Linked DNA regions of Homo sapiens: region 2 is linked to region 1. The links are contacts of gene promoters, found by promoter capture Hi-C in human tissues and cell types (Jung and others, 2019). All regions are on one chromosome and are shown on one strand. The core of a region is centred on a gene start or on the middle of the fragment in contact, and the rest is flanking DNA. Distances in the headings are between cores, read along the strand shown.

Region 1 (3,694 bases), core at 456-2,955:
ATGTAACTTTCTTTGGTTTTAGTTTTTGAACGGATCCCATTTTTAGCCCTGCACAAATGATTACATGTTGGTTCCTATCTTAGGTGGTGAGCCCAATGAACTTTTGAAAGGATCAAGGGGGCAATTTACAACGAATCTTAGATATGAAGCATGAATGAAGTGTTGTTTAATTTATCACCCTCAGCAGAGTATAGCCCAAATACACTGGCAGGGGTGTGTAAAGTCTTTTTTTGTCACAGAATCCCGCTGAACCGTACTTATTTCAAATTCCATCACCCCTTACCGTGTACGTGATGGTTTCTTCGGTGTCCTGTGACTTGACCAGCGCCAGAGTCAGCATAGTTAGGAAAAGGGCTTTCAACATTGTGAATCTCAAAGAAAATACAGGACAAACTAATGTTTAGTATCTGCTGCGGGGAAAGTAACAAAACTTTAGCAGTGAGCACAAGCGAGGAAAGGAGGGTGGGAGAGGCTGAGGCTCCACCATACTCAACTTCCAATCTGCTTTCTCATCTCCCCTCCCCCTCCTGAACCTTCTCGGTAGCCAACGAACGAGGCAGCAAAGACGTAAAAACTGCTGTAGAATTGCATTTCACGTTACTCCATCCTGCTACGCTGTTTACATACAAAAGACATTCAGCGTGCATTTTATACTGCACCTACAAAGCAGGCTGCAGAAAGAGGGGGTCGAAAGGAAAAAACAGTAATCCATTTCAAAGGGGACGGTGCATTTCCTGCCCCCCAGTCCCACACCCCGGGGGATGGAGGTGGGGCTGCAAAACTCTGTTCTCTAGAACGTTAAGGCTTTCCCAGTATACTCACCTTGAGCTAGCAGAGTTCCTTGCACAGCACAGCAAAAATACCTGTGAGCCAATATGAATTGCCTTGGCCTCAAGCTTTTTATTTTTTAAACAAAATAACAAAACAAAACTCGGAGAGCAATCTTCCAGTTCTAGTAGAATACTAGACCTTCTCACATGTCTCAGAGCTTCTCACATCCCCCAGCACAAACTCTCAAAGTGGCATTTCCACGCCTTTCTCTGCGCACAGCTTTGTTTAAAAGTCCCAGGTTGTGTGGAGGGGCAGCCCAAAGCGACTGATTCTCTTTTGTCTTATCAGTCTGGGTCCCCGACACGCTACCTTCGGTTTCAGGCTGCCTAGGACCGGAACCAGGGATCGCACCGCAGCCCAAGGTACCAGTTTCGGGCGGGCGGCCTGGCCCGGCAGGGAGATGAGGTCCCCTTTCTTAACAGCAAGCTAACGCGGCGGTCCCCTGGAGCTGCTCAGCGTCCCAGCTTCTAACCAGCTCCTATGGAATCCAGGTGCGGCTTAAATCTCGCACACTGGTCCCCTAAACTTTCAAAACCACGTTTATGGGCAAAGCCCTGCCGGCTGGTTGTCGGCGCGCACACACATGCCCATCCCAACAGATGTCACCCGAGTACTCGCACTTGCTGACAGATCGCATTCCGAGGCTGCACACCTCCACCTCCCTCTCTGCCCGAGACACCCTGCACAGTCCAGGGCAGTTCTCGGGTACTCAACACCCCTCAGCTCACCCCACCTCACTCTCCCGCGCGCGGCCCAGTGAGTACTGGGCTCGCTCGGGGCGACCCCCCGTTGGGGGCTCCTACCTGTGCGGCCGCGCTGCGCTCCGGGCCCGGGCAGCGAGGGGAGTGCGCAGGGGAGGGCAGCCCCGTGGGTCTGATCTGGCGAAGTCCGGCAGCGGCCGCGGCGGCAGGAGGAGGAGGAGAAAGGGAGGGAAAGGGGGAGGGCGAAGGGGGGCGGAGGAGAGAGCTGAGGGAGGCGCGAGCGCTGAGCCCAGCGTTGCGAGCCCGGCGGTAGAGCGCGCAGCGCAGCGAGGTCCGCGCCCCCTGCTCCAGGGGCCCTCTTTGCCGCCCCCGCTTGCCCTCCCTTGCCAGCTCCTCGTTTCCCAGACTCGCGGGGACCCCACGCCAGAGAGGACACGTTGACATGTGATGTCCTGGATGCGCTTCAGCCTTGGGGATGCTCCCACTCTCTAGTGCGTTTTCTTCTTCTCTGAGGAGGGGAACACAGCATCTCCCTCAGAGACCAGAGGGTTCTAGAAACTGCTGTTACTTTTTTTCCCAATAAGTGAATGCTAGGAGAGTAAATTAACCCCCATTCATAGAACTGTTTCCTTTACCTTTTCTTTCGGATTTTTTTTTTTTTTTGAGGAGGTGTCTGCTTCCACAAATGGAGAAAAATGAGAATTCATCCATTCAACAAATATTTGCCACCTACTGTGTGCTTAGTGTTGGGAATAGGCCAAATAGAACTTGCACTAACAAAATTGTGAGGTGGGGTTTGTTTTATGGTCTCTCAAACCTCCCTTTATGATAACAAGTGTTGGCAAGAATGGAGAAAAGGGAATGCTTGTATGCTGTTGGTGGAATGTAAATTAGTACAAACATGATGGAAAATTGTATGGAGGTTTCTCAAAAAACTGAAAGTAGAATTATCATATGATCCAGCAATCTCATTTCTGGGTATTTACTGGGAAGATTTGAAATCAGTGTGTTGAAGAGACGTCTGTACTTTCATGTTTATTGCAGCACTATTCACAATTGCCAAGATATGGAATCAACCTAAGTGTCCATCAAGGGATAAATGGATAAAGAAAATGTGGCATATATGTGTGTGTGTATACAAATATAATATATATTATATATATAAACACATATATATATAAAATATGTACACACATATATTTTAGATATATATGCGTTTTTAAGGCTAAATAGTATTCCATTGTGTGTGTGTGTGTGCGCGCGTGCATGTGTATATGAGCCCATTCTTCTGAAAAGTATCTTTCAAGCCAGGCAAAAATGGCAGTTCACTTGAATAATTTGTATGGTAAATAGAGAAGACTTACAGTTTGTTTTAGATATTTACTCCTAGACATTTAATGTTAGTGTACTATCAAGTAAGCCTAGACTGAGTTTAGCTTCACCACTTGGCTATGTAGCCCTAAGCAAGTTAGACACTCTCTTTGATCTTCAGTTCTACCATTAATAGAAGGAAGATGATGCCACTTACCTTACACATTGCTGCAAGGATCAAAGGAGATCGTGTCTCCACAGCGGGATACTCAAAAATAGTTATTATCTTGTCCTTTAACCATGAATTATTAGGCATACAAAATTTAAAAGAGAATAGTATTCCATTTTATGTGTCTGTGTGTATGTGTGGAATACTATTTAGCCTTAAAAAAGAAATTCTGTCATTTGTGACACCATGGATGGAAGTGGAAAACATTATGCACAGTGAAATAAGCCAAATGTAGAAACACAAATACCACATGTTCTCAAGTATCTGAAAGTAACTTAAAACAATTGAACTCATAGAAGCAGAGAGTAGAATGGTGGTTACCAGAGGCTAGGGTTGCAGGGAATGGAGAGATAACAGTCAAAGAGTGTAAGCCTCAATTAGATAGGATGAATAAGGGTTGGGTGCAGTGGCTCATGCCTGTAATCCCAGCACTTTGGGCAGCCAAGGTGGGCAGATCACCTGAGGTCAGGAGTTCAAGACCAGCCTGGCCAACATGGAGAAACCCCATCTCTACTAAAAATACAAAAATTAGACACGTGCCTGTAATCCCAGCTACTCGGGAGGCTGAGGCAGGATGATCGCTTGAACCCCGGAAGGCAGAGGTTGCAGTGAGCTGAGATCA
Region 2 (3,694 bases), core at 784-3,283, 63 kb before region 1:
TGATCACTTTTGGTATTATCTGAACATCTTTTTGGTTACAACTCACTTTTTATTGTCAGAATAATTTCTGGTGAGTTCCTAGAGAAATATATGAAAATATTTTCATGGTATGGTGCATTTATAGTTGTATATGCTGCATAATTAGGTATATTCATGAGTAGGCATTGATTAAAACCACATCCTCTGCTTATTATTTTACATGTCTGGTGAATGGAAGGATTTTCCATAGATTAATTTATAGCTCTGCATATTCCAAAACTTGTTTTTCCTCTGCTATTTACATCCATTGTTGGATGCTGTAGAATGTTATAGTGTGATGGGACTCCTGGCCCTGAACTTTTGGGCATGCTGTCAGCTATGGTCAACACAGAGGGTGGTGGGAATATTTCTAGAGGCTATTCCTACCCCAGACAGGAGCTCAAATTAACCATACATAGAAATGAATGTTAACTATATAAATATATCCTACTAAATCCAAACTAAATACACTCTCCTAACTCCACTTTCCCAGGCTGGATCTCAAACATACTTTTGACGCACTTCAGAGCCACGTGACATGTGAAGTGTGATGAGGGGAGCCCAAGATGAAAGAGTAATTCTAACCAATACAGCTAAAATGTATTATACAAATTTTACAAAAATATATAACTATGTGAACATAGGGTCCCTTTCAGGACCTTGGAAGGGGCTGGTGCAAGGGAGGAGCCTTGAAGCTTTAGCTTCATTAGCTTCCCTGAACATTCACTTTTGAAGGGCTACTCATTCTATTTAGTACTCTGCAATTGGACTTGTGATGAGCTCTAGAATCAGATAGGCTCGTGGTATTAACTATACAGTACCACTTTGCATAGTATTATATGTGTCCTTGAATCTAATTCAGTGTCATTGGCTGAACCATGTCCATTAGCCTTGGACATGGTTAGTGCCTGAGCAGAAGAAGAGAATGAGAGAGGAAAAGGAAGAAAAGATGGGAGAATGACCAGAAAAAGGTCAAGGAAGAGATTTATGTGGTATGAAGCCATCAAGCCAGTAAGTAACAGAAGCTCCATTTGTCAGAATCATCTAGCATTGCACTGGCGTCAGTCAGCAAATGTTGATGTCTGCCGCAGATCTCCTTAGCCATATGAGTTTACTGCATGGTGCAGTAGCAGTTTCTAGTTTGCCAACAGCATCCTCTATCAAACCCCTATCTTTCTTACCCTCTGCCTGAGGGCTTTCTCCAGTATGAGGAAGCACACCCTCCTGCAGGCAGTGTGTATGGGCAACACTTACCACAGGGACGGGAGTTGGTAGATAAATGCTGCAGCCCATGTGGCCTCTAGTGGAATGTTTCTCAGGTGAGTTCCATATGATTTATCAGAGGACTTGAGCTACAGTTGCTCACAGAGGTGATCCACTCATTTACTCACGAATTCATTGGCATCTCTTTCTGGCTCACTTTCCCCACTCACTCAAGTTTGCTTCCCAAGAGAACCTCTCAACCTACCAGAACTCAGTTTTTATGTCCGAATCTGCATCTGGGGCAACACAAACCAAGACACCTTGTTTAAGCCATTTGCAAGTAATTTACCACTTAAATAAACATAATGTAAATATTAAAATACAAAAACATAAAATGGGGTTTTTAAAGGAAATAAACAATTTGGAGATACTCAACTCAACAAAATCATTTGTGTTATATGCATCTGTTTAAATATCATGCTGAGATTTTGCAGAAACTACTTTAGTTTCTATGGGAAGATAAAAAAGAACCGAATTATTGCATTCAGGTCTTTAAAATTCTCTTGCATTTATATTCCAACTCTGGCTTATTAAAGGGGTCTGTGCTCCGTTAACATACACATGCGCTTACTATATAAACAGCTTAACTAGACATCTGCATTGACTGCATATAAGAGGCAGTTAACTTTTTGCCTTGTTTCTGTTCAACGATCTTGATATTTTAGTCTGCTGGCCAGATGAAACAAGATTGGTTTTTGGGTACCAGATGTGTCACAATTTGGGTTTGAATTTTGCAGGTGCTCCCCCCAGCTGGGAAGATGGAAGTTTGCCATCTTTTAGAGATGATGATTTGGGATAGAAGTAAAACTGTGTTAAAAATAATTCAACATATTAATAGAGGGCCTTGTCCCTTGTGGGCTTCTTATGCATAACATATGAGCAGACCAGCAGCTGTTCTATATTTTAAAAGGAGCGTTAGAAAGTTAGAAGCATACATAACTATTCAAAACACAAGCAACCGCTTGAAGTCATGGAAACAAGACTCAACAATAAACTTTTATTTGTGAAGCTTCCCCAAAAATAATAATCCCACTGGGCTGTGTTCAGGTGGCCTTAGGGTACTGAACAATCTTTCCATTTCCATCATTTGAATTCACTAAAGCATCTCCCTTGTAAATGAAGAGTGGTAGAAATTAGTACATGTACTAGATATGGGGATTGGTTTCTAGCTGATTTCTACTCTTCAATACTTATATTTTTAAATTATAATTTAAAAAATACCTATGTATTTTTGCCATTTTCACATGTGCAAGAACCTAAAGCCCCATTGAGGACTGAGTTCTTAATAGTGTCATATCTTGTCTTACTCTCAGCCTCTAAAACAGAAGCTGTTAGGTGATGATGTTCCTTGTACATATTTGCACCTTCGAAATTCACCTAATGAATGTTAACCAGTGTCAAGGAACGGCAATGTTCTTTACCCTTGGCTTTATAATAATCCTTACAGCAGGAAGGACGCTGTATGCTTTTTTGTCCAGCTCCTGGACCAGGGGAGTGTTAGACTCATTCTATCTTCACCACTGTGTTAGGTCGCCCTTGCATTGCTATAAATAAATACCTGAACTGGGTAATTTATAAAGAAAAGAGGATTAATTGGTTCACGATTCTGCAGGCTATACGGGTAATGTGATACCACCGTCTGCTTCTGGTGAAGACCTCCGGAAGCTTACAATCATGGTGGAAAGCGAAGCAGGGAAGTAGGTATATCACATGGCCAGAACAGGAGCAAGGGAAATGAGGAGGAGCCAGACTTCTTTAAATAACCAGCTCTCATGTGAATGTGTTCCTGCAGGGAGGGCACCAAGCCAGTCATGAGGGACCCACCCCATGACCCAAACACTTTCCACCAGGCCCCACCTCCAACATTGGAGGTCACATTGCAACATGAGATTTGGAGGGGAGAAACATCCAAACCGTATCAATCACTATTGCTCTCAAAGCTCCCCATTATTGGTAGAGATCCATCTGGATCTCTACTAATGGCCTCTTTTCTTCTGGAAACTGCTGTCCTCTCAAGTATAGTGAGGTCTACATGACTGGTGTTTGCATTTCAGTTTCCAGAATTCAGGAGTATTTTGGGTAACACAATTACTTCTGCCTGTCTGGAGTTAAAGAGAACAATAAACTACAGTTCAAGAAGGTTATAAGAATCAGGTTGGTGGTATCTATGTTATTTCAATCCGATTGCATGTGAAAGCAGCGATGAAAAAGTCATGCAGCCAGAAAGGCTGGCCCATGATGTGGAATGGACACTGTTCAAGAAGGGGTTTAAAAGGAAAGAGATTGCTTGTTGGTGTTGAAATTTGGAGTATGGCCAATGAAAAGAGCCCTAATCTAAGTCATAAGAACTGCATTCTAGGCATAGCACTCTTGCTCAACAAACTGCGATGTTGTGCAAGTCTTAAAAATAAGA

The links. Contacts are between HindIII fragments. The study calls those that stand out against the background at their distance.
Region 2: a contact is called between a fragment that was not itself captured here and the fragment with the promoter of EFEMP1 in region 1, in 3 of the 25 tissues and cell types used here (adrenal gland, aorta and mesenchymal stem cells).

The regions. Positions count from the first base shown.
Region 1 is chr2:55,922,077-55,925,770 of GRCh38, forward strand. EFEMP1 (EGF containing fibulin extracellular matrix protein 1) reads right to left here and starts at 1,706. Exons shown (of 12, transcript NM_001039348.3): 1 at 1,635-1,706; 2 at 823-863; 3 at 284-371. The coding sequence starts at 364. RefSeq lists an enhancer at 1,266-1,765. The HindIII fragment of the contact is 10,259 bases long and covers 1-3,694 here.
Region 2 is chr2:55,858,879-55,862,572 of GRCh38, forward strand. The region is part of intron 2 of LOC112268416 (a long non-coding RNA gene); the gene reads left to right. Among named protein-coding and RNA genes, the nearest start is that of EFEMP1, 63 kb to the right of the region's middle. The HindIII fragment of the contact is 4,085 bases long and covers 1-3,694 here.